Linked DNA regions of Homo sapiens: region 2 is linked to region 1. Evidence: promoter capture Hi-C in 16 types of primary human blood cells and fetal thymus (Javierre and others, 2016). All regions are on one chromosome and are shown on one strand. Each heading gives the region's core, a stretch centred on a gene start or on the middle of the fragment in contact. The rest is flanking DNA. Distances are from core to core; before and after follow the strand shown.

What was found. The method cuts DNA at HindIII sites, captures the fragments that hold promoters and counts their contacts. A CHiCAGO score of 5 or more calls a contact.
Region 2: a fragment that was not itself captured here is called in contact with the fragment with the promoter of NEB in region 1 in 2 of 17 cell types (naive B cells and total B cells); the score reaches 5.3 in naive B cells.

The regions. Positions count from the first base shown.
Region 1 is chr2:151,733,226-151,737,017 of GRCh38, reverse strand. NEB (nebulin) reads left to right here and starts at 2,542. Exons shown (of 182, transcript NM_001164508.2): 1 at 2,542-2,620; 2 at 3,223-3,306. The HindIII fragment of the contact is 3,549 bases long and covers 1-3,157 here.
Region 2 is chr2:151,659,036-151,662,314 of GRCh38, reverse strand. NEB (nebulin) reads left to right here. Exons shown (of 182, transcript NM_001164508.2): 46 at 1-180; 47 at 3,146-3,250. Among named protein-coding and RNA genes, the nearest start is that of NEB, 74 kb to the left of the region's middle. The HindIII fragment of the contact is 6,754 bases long and covers 1-3,279 here.

The sequences.
Region 1 (3,792 bases), core at 1,293-3,792:
GCTTTGGGGCTTTCTTTTAGGAGGAATTTATCCCAAGAGATCTAAGCCAGGGTAATTTCATGTGAACTCACTCTTGCCCCACCCCCCACCCTAACTTTTTAGATGCACACTTCATTATGAATGGAGTTTGAGGTTCTGCTCATCTGTAGCACTTCTATTTACTATCATAGTGGTTTCAAAAGTAATGTATAAAGAGTGTCTTAGTCCATTTGGTCTGCTATAACAGAAATAATATAAGCTGGATGGCTTATAAACAGAAATTTACTTCTCATAGTTCTAGAGGCTGGATGTCTAAGATCAGGGTGCTGGCATGGTTGGGTTCTAGTGAGGACTTTCTTTCAGGTTGTGGCTGGCCATCATCCCCCTGTAACTTCACATGGCAGAGAGAGTGCCAGGCAGCTCTCTGGGGCCTCTTTCATAAGTGTACTAATCCCATTCGTGAGGGCTCCACCCTTATGACCCAATCACTTTCCACACATCGGGGGGTAGGACTTCAACATATAAATTTTGGGGGGACACATTCAGCTCAGATAGTAATGATTTTTCAGTCTAATAATCCCTAAGGATATTGAGATGTGTATACATAGGAACCCTCATTCTCTGTTAGTGAAACATAAAATAGTGTAAGGATTTTGACTGGCAACTTGACAATATCTATCAATTTTCAAAATGTGCATATATCTTCTGCCTCAGTATTTCTATTTCTAGAAATTTACCTTACAGATACATTTCATATAAGTATACAAAGGTAATGTACAGGGATGCTTACTGTGTGTTTTGTTTCGCATTGTTTTGCTTTATTTTGTAATAGCAAAAACCTCGAAACAACCTAGATGTCCATTAATAATGATTAAACTATTATACTCTATCCAATCAATAGAATTATTTGTGGAAATTAGAGTAGGATATGTTTATGTGATGTTTCATAAAAATGTCTATTGCATATTAAGTATATCGATTTATGTCAATATCTATATTGAAAATATCTGAAACTTAAAAATGACTAAGAAGGTCAATGCTCATTTTTTACTTTATATAATTTTGTACTCTATGTTTTTAAAGTATGGGCCTGTATTATTTTTTAATTCAACAACACATTTTAAAGCATGTAATGACTAGTAAGTCACAATTCTAGTTTGCAGCTACCAAGTGAGTGATCTCATATTACATAAATATCCTTTGGTCATAAGACCTGTGAGAACATACAAGATGAACAGGTATAATCAGTTAAGATGATAAAATTCTGTTAGATTTTATTTACTACCATGTGAATCATGGAGGGGGAAAAGGTACATGTATTTGAAATATGAGATTACTTTCTCAAACTCCTGGCCTCAGACAATCTGCCCGCCTCGGCCTCCCAAAGTGTTGGGATTACAGGCGTGAGCCACCACGCCCAGCGAGATTACTTTCTAATGTTTAACTTAAAAAAGAAAAAATATTACAATATGTTTAATCTCAAATCCATATCAAGATATAGGTGACTCACAGGGTTTTGCCTGAATACAGGAGCAACCCAGAGAAAGAGCAGTTCTCTGTCACATAAGAGCCTGTGATTTCTGTCGCTGTGTGTAAGGACAGACAGACAGACAGATAGAATTAGATTTTAAATTAGAAAAAATACTTCAGGAGCAAAGAAAGTGCAAGAAAGACATCAGGCAAGTTTTAAGAAAATGGTTAGATAATTTTTATGAAGGAAATGTCTTACGTTCGGATTTGCCAAATAGGGCATTATTTTCTCCTGATAAGTTACTGATTTCCATGTTATCTGCTCTTGCTGTTCAGAAATTGAGCCTGTTTGTGTCCGCATTCACACGTTGCTTCTGGGAGCCAGGAGTCATCTGAGTTAATAGAAAAATCACTAACTCGGTTACATATGAGAGAGGTTCTGTATTCCTAGCAGCTTGCCTTATCTAAGGAGGGAGAAGGTGCTAAATAGGATTTTGGTATACCCTCTTGGTTTAGTAACAGAAAAATGATGGGGTCTAATCTTTCTAATTACACCCTGTGGATATCTTATTTAGTGCCATTGTCAAATATTTTCACCTTTAACTTCACTCATCACATTTTTAAAAATTGCTTTTGTCAACTTGATGTTTACTGGGTCTTATTCCTCAGTTTCTTTCACACTAGCACCAGTAACTTACCTGTAGCTCACCTGGTGAACCTTACCAGAGTGAGTACATTTACCACCATGACTGGACAAATGACATGAAGAAAGCAGTCACGGAAGGGTTAAAGCCTCTCAAAGTCATGCTTATTTTCTACTAAATTCTTTTGCATGAATATGACATTGAATGGGGCCTCAGTAAATGGGAAATTCAACCTAAAATTGAACTGCACAGGCTGGAAGTTAGGTAAAATTTGATTCCATTTGAATTGTTCTAAGCAAGCAATTTGTTACCCTTTATCCTTTAGTGGAATTGATGAACAGGTGGTTTTCAGAAGATCACTTGGTAAATTTAGCTTCTGAAATTTGAGCAACTCAAGATCTGATTGGTTGCTCTTGCCACATGATAATTCGGAGCCCAGGCATCACGCTGGCTTTTGCCTGGGGTTCTCAGGAGGGGAGAGTTGGGAGAGGCTTTGCTGCTGAGGAAATTTATTTGGTAGATTGAAGGTAAGGCCAGTTTATGACTTTTTCTGTAATACTCTTTCAGGAGATGCTCCACAACTTCCCTCGAAGTATTTTTCAAAGGTTTGGGCCATAACTGAGGAAATTAGTGGTAGAAATATGGCTAGGAGAGTTTAACCCCATTGCCCTACTAAGGCCCTACTAATATCTGCTATGTACCGTGTGTGATTAGAGTCAAGTCCTTTGCTAACCAATTTATTGCTTGACTGAATTGGCTCTCTTGTCTAACATTTTTTTGCCTTTGATATTTTTCTCTAAATATATTAGTGTGAAAAAGAAGATACGCTGCTCTACGTTCCTATATTTATCCTGTTCTACTGGGCTTCATTTGCCTGAGGAGTGGCAGTTTCGCTAGCTTAACAAAACCAGCCACTGCAGGGTATTGGTTTACATGGCAAACATCTTTGGATGAAGGGACAGCTGTTCCAACTCATCATCCACTTCATATCAAGAGTCTTACTCTCTGGCGTCAAACTGTAGAGGCCTTGAGAGATCCTTTCGCTGTTTTCTGCATTAGAAGCTTAGGCTAAGGACTGACAATCCTATATGTACCTCAATCAATGCTTTACAACTTTGTTATTTTTCAGGTTTGAACGAGAGCTACAGAAACGAAAGAAAAAGTCTGTATAAGCCAATGGTGTTCGGGAAGAAAATAACCCCATTGCCTTGAGGTTTCTTTTTTTCTTTTAAAATTTATTGACAGATGTATTTTTATGGGTTCCAATTTGAAGCCTAAGATATATTGCAAACAGTGGATCAGGGCAGTATGGAAAACTAAGTCAGCCCTCTTAGAATTTTGGTGCTGGGGGATAAATTTCAGCTTCTTCTGAAACCCAAGCTGACCTTTCACTAAAATTTTTGCTGGAAAATGTCTTTTCTCTAAGTGTTTGGAAGTTTAAATTCTCTGTTCCCTGAGTCCAAACTCTCTCACTTCCTTACCTCAATTTCGTTTTACAATTTTAACTAAACTGATTATGTAGAAGTAGCAATTCCCAACACTGAAGGAATAAAGAGAAAGAAATTTGAAGCTTCTGCTGTTTATACTTGTATTTTAAATGTCTTCTCTCCTTTAGCCTGCAACAATATATGAATTTGTACAATAGTTTAGCTTCAAATTCTATTTTTATAATGTCATAAGATAATTTCTGTGCTGGGAA
Region 2 (3,279 bases), core at 1-2,500, 73 kb after region 1:
TTCATGAAGGGCATTGGATGGCTCCCTCTGGGCTCCCTGGAAGCAGAGAAAAACAAGAAAGCCATGGAGATTATTAGTGAAAAGAAGTACCGCCAGCACCCAGACACTTTGAAGTATTCCACACTCATGGACTCGATGAACATGGTTTTGGCCCAGAATAATGCAAAAATTATGAACGAAGTAAGTCTTTCAATAATGCAGTGTTTCATATGCATCAGAGAGAATCCAGGTATAATTTACATTTAATCCACAGGTTTTGCTAATACAGTTATAGGGCATCACACTTGAGGTTATTTTACCTAGAAAAAGAGTCTTGTCGTTAAAAAAAAAAAGAATAGGAATTATTTCTAACTAGTAGTCTTCAAATCTTCAATGAACCATCCTATCTCATTGACATAACCAAATAAATAGGGACTTTTTCTTTTACTGCACCTCTTGAAAATGAGTCCTGTTTGTCTAAGGTGAGGTTGAATAGACATTCATGACACTGAATCAGCAGATTTCCTGATGGTAGCTGGTGTTGGAAACCACCTCCCAAACCCCAGCTTGCTTTCTGCTTTGATGGGATCAAAGAAAAGTCCAAGATTACATGCCTGTAGCAGCATTTCAAACCAGGACGTTCTCTGGGTAATCTTGAGGGCAGTTGTTCTACATCAGTGTTTCCTTGGTTCATGAATTATTCCAGCTTTTAGAAAAGACTTACTCTATTTTTACATTGATTTGCAATAAGAGATCAAGACCAACAAGTACAATCAACCTTGAACATCTGTTTTTGAAGTTAAAAGTAATAAAATAACTGCAGCAGCACTGGTGGATCAAAATGAGAAATGCCTTTGATAACAGAGAAAAAGATGATTTGGATCTAAACGTGAAACAGTTGCAGAAAATAATGGCCATAGTTGTGCTAGAAAGATAGAACTGTATTATGCTAAGCCACGGAGCAAACCCCCTGGAGTCTTCAGAGAATTGAATGATTTGTGGAGCTCAACCTCCTTGAAAGGGACCTGCCTCAAAGACAAGGCACAAATTTCTGTGCCTCTTTTAAGATTTAAATCTAAACTACATGAGGATATCTATTTTTTTCAGTGTTAGTGATTAACATTTCAGGATAATGATGCCAAGAGGAGAATCATAGAACTAGCACGTACTGGCACCAAGAGACATCTTGATGACCATCAAGTTGAATCCTCCCATTGCAGAGTTGAGAAAAGAACAGCCCAGAGAAGCAAAGCACCTCCCACACAGCGGGTCAACAGCAGGGTCTGGACTAGAACAGGGATTCTGATAACTAGTCACCACTCTTTCCACTAGCATTTCACTGTCCAATACTATTACTACTAGCCACATGTGTTGATTTATATTTACATAAATCATATTAATAATTCAGTTTCTCATTCACATTAGCTACATTTCAAGTACTCAATCGGCCTATGTGGCTAGGTTCTACCATATTGGATTATGCAGAACATTTCCATCATTACAGAAAGTTCTATTGTATAGTGCTGGTCTAAAACAGAGTTCAGAAAAATGACTGTTTTTGTAAATAAAGTTTTATAGTGACACAACCACAGCTGTTTGTTGGCGTGTGGTCTCTGGCTGCTTTTGGACTACAACAGCAGAGTTGAGTAGCTAATGACAGCAATTGTTTAGCCCACAAAGCCTGAAATTTAAGGAATTTCTGTCTATACAGAAAAAGTTTGCCAATCTCTAGTCCAGAAAAAGGTTATTCTTATTTTAATTAAGATGGGCTAAAACAAAGAGATAGCATTTATCATCTATTGCATTTGCAAATATTAAATAGCTGTGTTACATGCAATATCTGTAAGGGAGTTTCTGTTAAAGCAAACTTTTAATGGGCCATTTGTTAATGTTCGTTAAAATTTAAAACTCAGGTATCATTACCCTATAGAAATCCTTATATATGTGTGCAAAGATATACATACATACATACATACACACAAGAATATGTTTTGCAGTTTAGGGTTTCTGAAAGGAGACGCTAAGATGAAAATTGGAGTACAGAGTATTTTTTAGGGATCCTAGTCTTTGGGAAGAAGGACTAGGCCGGAGGAGAAGTTGAACAGTGATGCTGGCATGACAAAGTCTTGGCCAGTCCCACAGAGGGCTCTCAAGTGTCTCTGTCAGTAGAGACCTGCACTGAACTGAAATGGCTAGATCTTTGTACCCCCACTTCGATGAGTTGTTGAATGTGGTTATCTGGGAAGGGCATACTCTTGAGTGAGACAGCTGGTGACTGGAGACTATTTGCCAAAAGTTGGGGAATCAGGTCCTTCCTTGAATGAGTATATTGGTGGCACATCTCCATGTCCACCACAAGGATCATGACATTGCTTGTAGCAGAAAAAGGCTAGAGGCCATAAGTTAAATATTCATCACCAGAGAACTGATTAAATTAATTAGATTATACCTCCTAATGAAATACTACGTAGCTCTAAAAATGAATGAAGTAAATTATTTTAAGAAGGTTCAAATATGTCTAACCTATATTATTAAGTTAAAAATCAAGATGTAGAACATGACTTCATGTATATTTAAAAAGGACTATATGTCTGTTTTAATTTACACAGAAAATTTTAGGAGGCAAATGCTACCTTCATGCTGTAAGATAAGGGGAAAAAACATTTTTACTTTCCATCTTACATCCTCCCTGCTGTATTGTTTGAATAAGCAACTTTTCCATTAAAATTTTTTTGGGCCAGGTGCAGTGGCTCATGCCTGTAATACTAGCACTTTGGAAGGTGAAGGCAGGTGGATTGCTTGAGCTCAGGAGTTTGAAACCAGCCTGGGCAACATGGCAAAAACCCATCTCTACAAAAAATACAAAAATTAGCCAGGCATGGTAGTGCATGCCTGTAGTCCCAGCTACTCAGGAGGCTGAGGTGGGAGGATGGATTGTTTGAGCCTGGGAGGTGGAGGTTGCAGTGAGCCATAATTGCACTACTGCACTCCAGCCTGGGTGACAGCGCAAGACTCTGTCTCAAAAATAATAAATAAATAAATTAATTAATTTAAACCTAGCTAATAAAAATACATGAAATATTGATATATATGTACAATGATATGTATGTACTAAGTGAGCTTCTTTTAAGATTTTAAACACTAATTTACACTGTTTTTTTCCTAGCATCTCTACAAACAAGCATGGGAGGCTGACAAAACCAAAGTCCACATCATGCCTGATATCCCCCAGATTATTTTGGCAAAGGCAAATGCAATTAATATGAGTGATGTAAGTATAGTTCCCCCTGTTGTCATCTT